2 separate regions of the Homo sapiens genome follow, and region 2 is linked to region 1. The links are contacts of gene promoters, found by promoter capture Hi-C in blood cells and fetal thymus (Javierre and others, 2016). All regions are on one chromosome and are shown on one strand. The core of a region is centred on a gene start or on the middle of the fragment in contact, and the rest is flanking DNA. Distances in the headings are between cores, read along the strand shown.

What was found. Contacts are between HindIII fragments. The CHiCAGO score rates a contact against its expected background, and 5 or more counts as called.
Region 2: the fragment with the promoter of SLAMF6 here is called in contact with a fragment that was not itself captured in region 1 in 1 of 17 cell types (total B cells); the score reaches 5.4 in total B cells.

Annotation. Positions count from the first base shown.
Region 1 is chr1:161,039,265-161,044,954 of GRCh38, forward strand. It overlaps USF1 (upstream transcription factor 1), which reads right to left. Exons shown (of 11, transcript NM_007122.5): 2 at 4,004-4,096; 3 at 3,569-3,618; 4 at 3,291-3,406; 5 at 2,852-2,953; 6 at 2,387-2,582; 7 at 2,060-2,147; 8 at 1,550-1,608; 9 at 1,312-1,406; 10 at 938-1,066; 11 at 1-745. The coding sequence starts at 4,011. The coding sequence ends at 656. Among named protein-coding and RNA genes, the nearest start is that of TSTD1, 3.1 kb to the left of the region's middle. RefSeq lists enhancers at 2,493-2,652, 5,513-5,690. The HindIII fragment of the contact is 2,818 bases long and covers 3,032-5,690 here.
Region 2 is chr1:160,520,285-160,525,891 of GRCh38, forward strand. It overlaps SLAMF6 (SLAM family member 6), which reads right to left and starts at 2,971. Exons shown (of 8, transcript NM_001184714.2): 1 at 2,860-2,971. The coding sequence starts at 2,908. RefSeq lists an enhancer at 2,756-2,805. The HindIII fragment of the contact is 3,138 bases long and covers 2,600-5,607 here.

The sequences.
Region 1 (5,690 bases), core at 3,191-5,690:
TTTATCTTAAAAAAAAAAAAAAAAAAAAAAAAAAAAGAAAAGAAAAAAAAAAAACGACCCCCACAAGGGGGAAGGCCCCAAGTGGGCCCCTGCCTGTTGTTCTCTCTGGCTCCAGAGATGTCTGCATAGGCCTCAGCTTCTCACTGGCCAATCTCCTCTTCATGGGCACCAGCCACTGCTAAACATCCTTCCCTCACTTCTTGTGTAAGCTTGCTCCCCTGAGCCACAGGTTGCACATCTAAACCTCAGCTCCAGGGAAAGGAAGAACCAATGGAAGTGCCAGAGTCCTGGGGCAAGCCAGAGCATCACCTGTCAGCAAACCTCTGCTGGGCACTCTAAGCAAGCACAGGACAAGCCCCAGAGTTTAGTGTGTCCAGTATCCAGCATGGAGACAGCACATGCATTGTGCGAGAGGAGCACAAGGGCCCAGGGGCTGCATGGTGGGGGTGGGCAAGGCTGTCAGTGCACGTCCACATTGTGTGTTTCACACCACTGCAGGCCGCCATATCACAGGGCCTCAGTTCAAGGACACACCTTCTGAACTTCCCCCTGTCCCATGCCAGAAGTGGGGCAGTGAAGGAAAGGGGCACGGGATTAGGCTGTTGCTCCTGGGCTATCTGCAGTTCTTGGGCCCAAAGCCCCTGAATCCCCATAGTTAGTTGCTGTCATTCTTGATGACGACCTCTAATCCGTGGTGCCGCAACTGAGCTCGAAGCAGCAGATTCTTGTTTTTAAGATCTTCCACCTGACATGGGAAGGAGGCAGTAAAGGGAATGGGTAGTAAAGCTGGCACTTCCAAGCCCCTGAATGTATTCAGACATCCACTGGTGAGGGGGAAAAGATGAAGCCTTCTCCATGGAGAACAAAGTAGAGGGTGTCAAACTGGGTCAGTGGCTAGCAGAACTGAGAAGGGCTGCACTGGGGGTAGGAGTCTGACCTGTTGTCGAAGCACGTCATTGTCCAGCTGCAGTTGGTCAAGTCCCTGCAGTTCTTCAGACAAGCGGTGGTTACTCTGCCGAAGCTCCTGGATATAATCACAAGCTTTGGATAGAATCCCACCTTTACTCTGCAAGATAAGGTCAACAAAATGAGAACTAGGATTTCAGATACCCAGCTTGCTTTCCAAAAGTAGGTTCACACTTTGGACCTCATTTTCATCTAAGGAAGGTGGTATAATATCTCCCAGGGATACAGGAACCTCAGGGAGAGATAAGACTACTGTCATGTGTGCCCCTCTCTCTACCATTTCTGGAAACAATACCAGGAGGCAGAATTCAGGCATCCTGCCCACTACCAGGGTCTTTCCATGACCTGGCCAGACTTGGTGCTCTCCATAGAGCAGTCTGGGATTATCTTGGAGAGCTGCACGATCCAGTTGTTGATCTTGTCTCGGCGGCGACGCTCCACTGTGGGGCAAAGTGGAGGACAAGGTGACTCAGTGAAAACTCGCCACAAGTCCCAGGGTAAAATTACCTAATCCCTCCTCCCCTCAGACATCACTGCTGAGATCACACCAGACAGCTTCTAGCTCCACCCAGATCATACCTACCTTCATTATGCTGAGCCCTGCGTTTCTCATCCCGAGTCGTCCGGGGAGCTTCTGACTTCCTGACAACAGAGCCCAGGGTGGCCAGAGTAAGAAGACAAAATACATGATTGAAGTTTGGGGTTAAGGAATTATACAAGATTTAGCAGGTATTAGGACCACTTATGGTAGCTAGGTGTGGTGTCTCACACCTGTAATCCCAGCACTTTGGGAGGCCGAGGCAGGCGGATCACTTGAGGTCAGGAGTTCGAGACCAGCCTGGCCAACATGGTGAAACCCTGTCTCTACTAAAGATACAAAAATTAGCCAGGGGTGGTGGTACATGTCTGTAGTTCCAGCTACTCAGGAGGCTGAGGCATGAGAAACGCTTGAACCCTGGAAGCAGAGGTTGCAGTGAGCTGAGATCATGCCACTGCACTCCAGCCTGGGTGACAGAGCAAGACTCTGTCTCAAAAAAAAAAAAAAAAAAAAAAAACCACTTACGGAATCTGAGAAGAAACAAGGGTCACTCACGGGGAATAAGGGTGAGTCCTAGGGGCAATTGAGCGCTGGCTTCCTCCCTGCAGTACTTCTTGTGGTGACATCATCACAAAGAATTGACCTGTGAAGATGCAGGGTAGGTTCTGTCAGGACATGGGTAGGAACCTCACCAAGCCCTGAGGTGAAGACCCTGGTCCCCTCCTCTAAAAAGAACATGCTAATAGAAGAGCAGCCCCAGACTCACTGCCTGTCCAGGTCTTAATGATCACTAAGAGTCATGAGTGAAGGCTCACTGCCTACCAGTCATGTCCCACAGCCTATTCTAGCCCTTTCAGCCAGCATCCTCATGCAATATCTCACCAGTGCCAGGAGGGGTCGCCTGCCCCAGCAGTGCCTCTGAGCCCTGGGTAGTAACAACAGCAGCTGTACTCCCCGATGTGGTACCCCCTGCCCCATCTCCCACTGCCGTGCTGGGGAAGTAAGTATAGTGCGTCTCAGCAGCTGTCCCCTCCGTGTCAACTGCATCATCACTGGTGAAAGCACCCTGGATCACCGCCTGGGAAGGGGAGCAAGAAAACTGATTCTGGTAACAGTCAAAAACTTCTTCCCACTACACCACTCTGCAGCTTCTATCCGTTGGGGTGGTAGGTAGGGTGGAGAGAGAGAGAGAGAGAGAGAGAAACATCCAGAAAAGGAGAGCCTAGTGCTTTGGGACAAGGCAGCCTTAGATGCCTCACTGTTCCTAGCTTCACCCCCATCCTACTGATTCCCTTCTTCATCTTACTTCTCAGAACTCTAGTGACCTCCCCAGCCCATACCCTGTACCTGGGTCATGGATTGAGTGGCAGGGTAGCCACTGATGGCGCCAGTTCCCTCAGTTTGGCCATCCAGCTGCCCCTCAGACACCTGGATCACCCTGTACATCACCTAGAAGTGTAGAGGAAGGCAGAGGGAGTGAAGAGAGAAGAAAAGATTAAGTGTTGGGAATCCTAGGGCCCCTCATAAAGCTTCCCTTGGATAGGGCCCCAAAACAAAGTCCTTCAGAGACATGGATTCAGCCATTCTCCCTTCTTTCCCCACACAGAGGTTTCAGCATACATCTAACCTCACACCAGTCTCTACTCCAGTATTAGCACCTCCCTCCCCTGCAACAGTCCACTCTTTCAACTCATCCTCCAAGCCAGGTCTCCCCAAGACATGTTCAATTACCTCCCTCAATCCCAACCCCAGATAACACCTGCAGCCACCTGGCCCCCTCCCTTACCTGGCCCCCATTCTCAGTTCGGAAGACGTACTTGACGTTGGGGTCAGGGAAGGTGGCAGCTGACTGGATGCTGGCAATAGCCACACTGGTTGGGTCTTCCCCAGTAGCCACTGCACCTGAATTAAAAGAACAAAGGAAAAGTCTGTGAGTTAACTGCCTTTCTACCCCCGTTCCATTTGCATGTCACGGAAGGAGGAGGATGCACAGGAGATGGTCTGGTGGGGAAGGAAGGGAGGCCATGATGGGTTCTTAGTCTTGGTTCTGTTTCTAGCACTCACCTTCCTGAATCTGCACTGTCCCCTCTTCCGTTTCAGCTGTTTTCTGCTGCCTGTTTGTGGTGAAAGGACAAAAGGAAGAGTATGAGAAGAAGTCAATGAGAAGCTCACTGGCCCAGTAACATATGGCTGCAAACTCATTGGCATTCCCAACAGAAGCTGGGTTAGGTTAGAATAACAACTAGTGTTTACTGTTTACTATGTACATAAGCACTAAGCTAAGTACATTACATGTAATCTTATTTAGTACTAAAAACAGCACCACGAGATAGATAGCACTACTTCCATTTTATAGATAGAGAAACCAAATCACACAGTAAGTGATAGAGTAGAACCTGAATCCAGGTCTGCCTGACTCCAGAGGCAGTGCTCTTGGTCATTTTGCATTCTTCCAGGCCACCCATCTTTCATCCCAGACCCTACCTCTTCTTCACTCACCCCTTCATCTCTCTGTGAGGGGGCACATCCGAGGAACTGGTCCTTTTTTGGAGGTCTTTGTATCTCCTGATTCACAGGCCTGAGTGCTAAGTCCTGGTAGAAATCATGAAGTTTGCAATGAGTTTAGGAAACAGAACAGTATCTCTGGTTCTAGAACTTAGGTTCCATGAACACATAGCCAGGAAAATAACCCAGTCATCTGCAGGGGACAATCAGCCTCCACCATACTGATGTTGAGGACTGGCCTACAGTGATTGAAAAAGCAAGGCTACAAATAGTGTTCCCCATCCCTCCATTATCACTCCAACTCCTGGTGGAGAGTGGATAATTATACTGGAAGACAGAAACAACACTTTTTTTTTTTTTTTTTTTTTGAGACAGAGTCTCTCTCTGTCACCCAGGCTGGAGTGCAGTGGCGCGATCTCAGCTCACTGCAACCTCTGCCTCCCAGGTTCAAGTGATTCTCCTGCCTCAGCCTCCGGAGTAGCTGGGATTACAGGTGCACACCACCACGCCTGGCTAATTTTTGTATTTTTAGTAGAGACGGGGTTTCACCATGTTGGCCCGGCTGGTCTCGAACTCCTGAGAGCATGATCTGTCCACCTCGGCAGCCTCCCAAAGTGCTGGGATTACAGGTGTGAGCCACTGCACCTGGCCGAAACAACACATTTCTTTCTTTTTTTTTTTTTTTTTTCTGAGACAGAATCTTGCTCTGTCACCCAGGCTGGAGTGCAGTGGCACAATCTCGGCTTACAACCTCCATCTCCTGGGTTCAAGTGATTCTCCTGCCTCAGCCTCCTGAATAGCTGGGATTATAGGTGCCCACCACCACGCCCAGCTAATTTTTGTATTTTCAGTAGAGATGGGGTTTTACCATATTGGCCAGGCTGGTCTGGAACTCCTGACCTCAGGTGATCCGCCTGCCTCGGCCTCCCAAAGTGCTTGGATTACAGGCATGAGCCACCGCACCCAGCCAACAACACATCTCTAAATGGATCATTAAAGCTATTATGACCTGCCATGATGGCAGCTTCATGGGAATCAGGAAGGGCCATGTATTGGCCCCACCATCAAAAAATACAGTGTCATGGACACTGATGCTTCTTCCAGTTTCTCAGCCACATGTTGTCCATCAAGACATTTCTGTTTTCAAACCTAGGAAGAGGAAATCTGAAGCCCACTACCACTGGAAGAATATCCCTGACCACAAAGACTAGACTTGGCATTTGGGCCCCATTCTACTGACAGGACTCTTGTTTTGGGGTATCCAGATTTATATAATCTGTTAGAAACCCTAAAGCCCAAGTGGATCCTCTTCAAGCATTCTCTATTTTATTCATCAAGCCTTCCTGCAGAACAACACTGTTGCTAAAATGTTGCTATGACAACTCCAAATCAACTAAGCCTGAGCAAGAAGGGGTAAAAAAAAAAAAAACAGGGTTCTGAAGAAGAGACAAAGGGGGAAGAATCCACCTACAAGCTCTGCCTTAGGACCCTGACACCCAGCCAGAGGGCAGGAAAAACAAAGAGCTGGGCAGACATGCCTCCAGAAAGAAACAGCTACACAGTACAAAGCAATAAGATAATCCCAACACAAAAGGGGCAAGATTTTTGGAAATTCTCTACCCATAAGGTCCTCCAAACCTTTCCTATCCAAGGAAAATTTTCAATGGATAAGCCTCGGAAA
Region 2 (5,607 bases), core at 1,721-4,220, 520 kb before region 1:
CCTGGACCTCAGAATACCTATATCTGCTTCCTGCAAACACACTCAAAGTTAGTTTCTATTTCTTCCTCCCTACAATCCCAGTATGACTGAAGTCCATTGGAATTTAGAACCTTGCTGCTTAGTGTGGTCCATGGACAGGCAGCATTGGTGTCACCTGGGAGCCTCTTAGAAATGCAGAATCTCAGTCCCTATTCCCCAATCAGCATTTTAATAAGATTCCCCCAAGTAATTTATATGCACATTTAAGTTTGACAAATTTCCAACTTTCCATCTATAAAAATCAAAATGAAGAAACAAACGAGATTTATTTTCTCTAGGAAGTCATGATGCTTGATTTTATTTACAATTATTGTTTTGTTCTGTTAGTTTTGCCACCCAGGGCTTGAGTTAAAGGAAATGGGATTATTTTTCAATATGGTTTGTCTTTTCCACTAAATTTTCTAAAAGGAGTCAGGATAGTGCCCAACCCACTTCAAAGAATGTAGGCTGGCATGAGTCATTGTTTTTCATGGTTGTTTCAAAGATTAATTTCATTTGCCCCACATTTTTGCAACAGTGGTCTTCTTTCCCTTCCTAAATCACTCCAGGCTCTTTCCTGCATCACGGCTTTTCACACATGATTCCCTCTGCCCTAAAATCTTCTTCATTTGACTTTTCCTGTTTAACTTTTCACACCCTTTAAATATCAGATGAGATGTTACTTTTCCAGGAAGTCCTTTCTTCATCACTCCGTCCAAAGCAGGTCCCCGTGTTTTTCTCTATGAAGGTGCCCTGCTTATTTTTTTTGCTGGCCTCACATTTTCTAATTATGTACACATTTGTGTGAATGTATGACTGTGTGTAAGCTAAGTAGCATAGTGAAGTGGCTATGAGCACAGACTCCGGAGCCAAGCTTCCTGATTTCCAATTCTAGCAGCCACTTCTCTCCTCCTGGGTCTCAGAACACCTGCATCTGCCTCCTGTAAACTCATTCAAATGTGTTTCTCTTTCTATACCCATTTCCCCCATAAATGTGGGGCAGTGAGCAAGTTACTTTAGTGTTCTGTGCCTTCTTTCCCCATCTGTGAAGTGGAGATTGGAGCACTGTATATTTCATAGGGTCATTATAAGAAGTATTCATGGAAATAGGGAGAAGAAGAGGAGTTTTAACACAAGGACATTCAGAATATTTTATTCTAGAGGTGGAAATAATTTTGCAGGGTGGTAAAAATGAAGCAAAAACTCAAGATTCTGCTCCTAGATCAGGAAGTGGCTCTTGAATGAAGGAAAGAATTCTCTCTCTTTCTGCATTTTATATATATTTCCCAAAGTTCTGTTCTCATTCCAGTTTTCTCCTCAGCTTAACATATCTCTATGCCATTGATTTTTAAGTCTCTAGCCTCAGCTCTACCCCTAGTCCTAAGTTCCCAGGATCCTCCACGTAACTTCCTCATGTATAGCACACTGACATCCTAAAATCAGTAGGTCCAAAATTGAACTCACCTTCCTCCTGTGGCTGCTCTCCACCTTCCAATTTTGTCACTTTCTTTGGCTATCCTGTCTGAAATTTCACTGCCGTCTTTACCATATTTCATCTCTCCCTTTCCTTCTTGATTTATTTCTTCCTACCCAATACACTATTTTACTTGTTTATCTTTTTTTACAGTTTGTCTCCTGCTAAAATGTTAACTCCATGAGGGCAGGAATTTTTGCTTGCTTTGTTCATGATGTATTCATGCAAACTAGAAGAGTGCCAAGCATTCAGTAGGTGCTCAATGAATATTTATTCCTTTCTCATTCCAATTACCAATTACTCTACTTAACTCCATATTGATGGGATCTCTTGCTTCAGTCTCTTCTTTCTCTTATGCTGCTGCCACACTTGTTGAACTGTTATTTTTTCTCATAACTATTACAAGAGCTTGTCGCATGCTGGCTAATGAAATTTGGGCAAATTATTTAAATTAAGTTCACCTCAGTTCTTCATTTTAAAATGGAGATATTAATAGTATAAATTCATAGAATTCTCATGAGACTCATAACGTGTGTACAGCACCTGGCACAATACTTGAAATACAATAAGTGCTCAGTGAATGCTTCCTACTTTTATCTGCTACCCTGGGCTAGCTCTGGACTAGATTTCCATTGGTCTCCTGGACTATCTCTGCCTGAATGCTACACTTTGTCTCCCGTGGACCACTTGTAGTTCCCCAAATGTGATATGAATCTTCATCTTCTCCATATAATGGACAGCAGGAAACAAGAAGCCAGCTGGATCAGTTCATTCTTTTCTCACTGCCATATATAATGCATTGCTGGACTAGCTAGCCCTAATTTGCACTAAAGGAGGGGAGAGATGGAAACCTTTTTTTTTGCAATGAGCAAAAGGTGAGAGGGTTATTTTTGGTGTGTTTGGTTGGGCCCAGAAAATTTGGCTCAACTGAATAATAGGTTTTTAATAATTTAGATGAGGATAGTGAGGTTCAGGAAGGATAAGTAACCTCCCTGAGGTTCACAGTACGATAGTAGATACATTGGTATGAGGGCCCATTTTCTTGGTCTTGGTACTCTTTATAACACAAGATGCTGGTCATAAACCACAAACAGTCTTGTCTTCAAAAGCTTATTTCCTCTGCCCCAGCAAATAACTTTCTTACATGCAGACACAATTGAAATTGTTCACCGACAACCATCTCAGGCTTATCGCATCCAAAGTTGAGAGGAGGTAGTAGTATATCAGGTAACACTGCCAGCGTCCCCTTTCCCGCCCCAATCCCTTGGCAGAGAGCCAGACAACTGTATACAGACGATTTAGGTTGAGCAAGCTGCACAAAACCAGGGAGTCACTCAGTGACTACACCGATCTGGATTGACATTTACCTGGGCCAAAGCAGAAGACAAACAGGAGCGATTGGAACAGCCACAACATGCTTTCCGCGGTGAAGACTGGTGCTTGAGACCTTGAGGCAGTCAATGTTTTTGCCCTTCTGTCATAAACTGAAAATACTTCTGAGACTTCCCCTTCCTCTTAGAGGCGTGGTGACAACTTCTTCCCCTGCACTAAAAATCCTAATTTGTAACTGTGTTAATTTTTTGTTTACTTTTTTCTGAGCTAAGTGCACAAATTTTTTTTTTTTTTGGAAAAGAAGATAAAGTCCTTTATTGCATCTTTCATAAACTTATATGTAAAAGTCTGTAAGGAATTTCCTAAAATCTACTAGAACAAATAAATGAGTTCAGCAAGGTGAAAAGATACAAAATCAAAATATAAAATTCAATTGCAATTGTATATACTAGCTATGAGTAATCCAAAAATAAAATTCAAAAAACAATTCCACTCTAATTACATTAGAAAAAAATATTTAAGTATAAAGCTAAGAAAAAGCCAAAAGAAAACTGATTTTTTAAAATTATACTTTAAGTTCTAGGGTACATGTGCACAATGTGCAGGTTTGTTACATATGTATACATATGCCATGTTGGTGTGCTGCACCTATTAACTTGTCATCTACATTAGATATTTCTCCTAATGCTATCCCTCCCCTTGCCCCCCACCCCGTGACATACCCCAGTGTATGATGTTCCCCTACCTGTGTCCATGTGTTCTCATTGTTCAGTTCCCACCTATGAGTGAGAACATGCGTTGTTTGGCTTTCTGTTCTTGTGTTAGTTTGCTGAGAATGATGGTTTCCAGCTTCATCCATGTCCCTGCAAAGGACATGAACTCATCCTTTTTTATGGCTGCATGGTATTCCATGGTATATATATGCCACATTTTCTTTATCCAGTGTATCATTGATGGGCATTTGGGTTGGTTCCAAGTCTTTGCTATTGTGAACAGTGCTGCAATAAACATAAGTGTGCATGTGTCTTTATAGCAGCATGATTTATAATCCTTTGGGTATATAACCAGTAATGGGATTGCTGGGTCAAATGGTATTTCTAGTTCTAGATCCTTGAGGAATCGCCACACTGTATTCCACAATGGTTGAACTAGTTTACACTCCCACCAACAGTGTGAAAACATTCCCATTTCTCTACATCCTCTCCAGCATCTGTTGTTTCCTGATTTTTTAATGATTGCCATTCTAACTGGCATGAGATGGTATCTCATTGTAGTTTTGATTTGCATTTCTCTAATGACCAGTGATGATGAGCTTTTTTCATATGTTTCTTGGCCGCATAAATGTCTTCTTTTGAGAAGTGTCTTCATATCCTTTGCCCACTTTTTGTTGGGGTTTTTTTTTTTTTCTTGTAAATTTGTTTGAGTTCTTTGTAGATTCTGGATATTAGCCTTTTGTCAAATGGATAGACTGCAAAAATTTTCTCCCATTCTGTAGGTTCCCTGTTCACTCTGATGATAGTTTCTTTTGCTGTGCAGAAGCTCTTTAGTTTAATTAGGTCCCATTTGTCAATTTTGGCTTTTGTTGCCATTGATTTTGATGTTTTAGTATTGAAGTCTTTGCCCATGCCTTTGTCCTGAATGGTATTGCCTAGGTTTTCTTCTGGGGTTTTTGTGGTTTTAGGTCTAACATTTAAGTCTTTAATCCATCTTGAGTTAATTTTTGTGTAAGGTATAAGGAAGGGAACCAGTTTCAGTTTTCTGCATAATTGCTAGCCAGTTTTCCCAACACCATTTATTAAATAGGGAATCCTTTCCCCATTGCTTGTTTTTGTTAGGTTTGTCAAAGATCAGATGGTTGTAGATGTGTGATGTTATTTCTGAGGCCTCTGTTCTGCTCCATTGGTCTATATATCTGTTTTGGTACCAGTACCATGCTGTTTTGGTTACTGCAGCCTTGTAGTATAGTTTGAAGTCAGTTAGCGTGCTGCCTCCAGCTTTGTTCTTTTGGCTTACAATTGTCTTGGCTATATGGGCTCGTTTTTGGTTCTGTATGAAATTTAAAGTAGTTTTTTCTAATTCTGTGAAGAAAGTCAATAGTAGTTTGATGGAAATAGCATTGAACCTATAAATTACTTTGGGCAATATGGCCATTTTCATGATATTGATTCTTCCTATCTATGAGCATGGAATGGTTTTCCATTTGTTTGTGTACTTTCTTATTTCCTTGAGCAGTGGTTTGTAGTTCTCCTTGAAGAGGTCCTTCACATCCCTTGTAAGTTGTATTCCTAGGTATTATATTCTCTTTGTAGCAATTGTGAATGGCAGTTCACTCACGACTTGGCTCTCTGTTTGTCTATTTTTGGTGTATAGGAATGCTTGTGATTTTTGCACATTGATTTTGTATCCTGAGACTGCTGAAGCTGCTTATCAGCTTAAGGAGATTTTGGGCTAAGACAATGGAGTTTTCTAAATATACAATCATGTCATCTGCAAACAGAGACTATTTGATTTCCTCTCTTCTTATCTGAATACCCTTTACTTCTTTCTCTTGCCTGATTGCCCTGGTCAGAACTTTCAATATTATGTTGAATAGGAGTGGTGAGAGAGGGCATCCTTGTGCTAGTTTTCAAAGGGAATGCTTCCAGATTTTGCCCATTCAGTATGATAATGGCTGTGGGTTTGTCATAAATAGCTCTCATTATTTTGAGATACGTTCCATCAGTACCTAGTTTATTAAGAGTTTTTAACATGAAGGGATGTTGAATTTTATCAAAGGCCTTTTC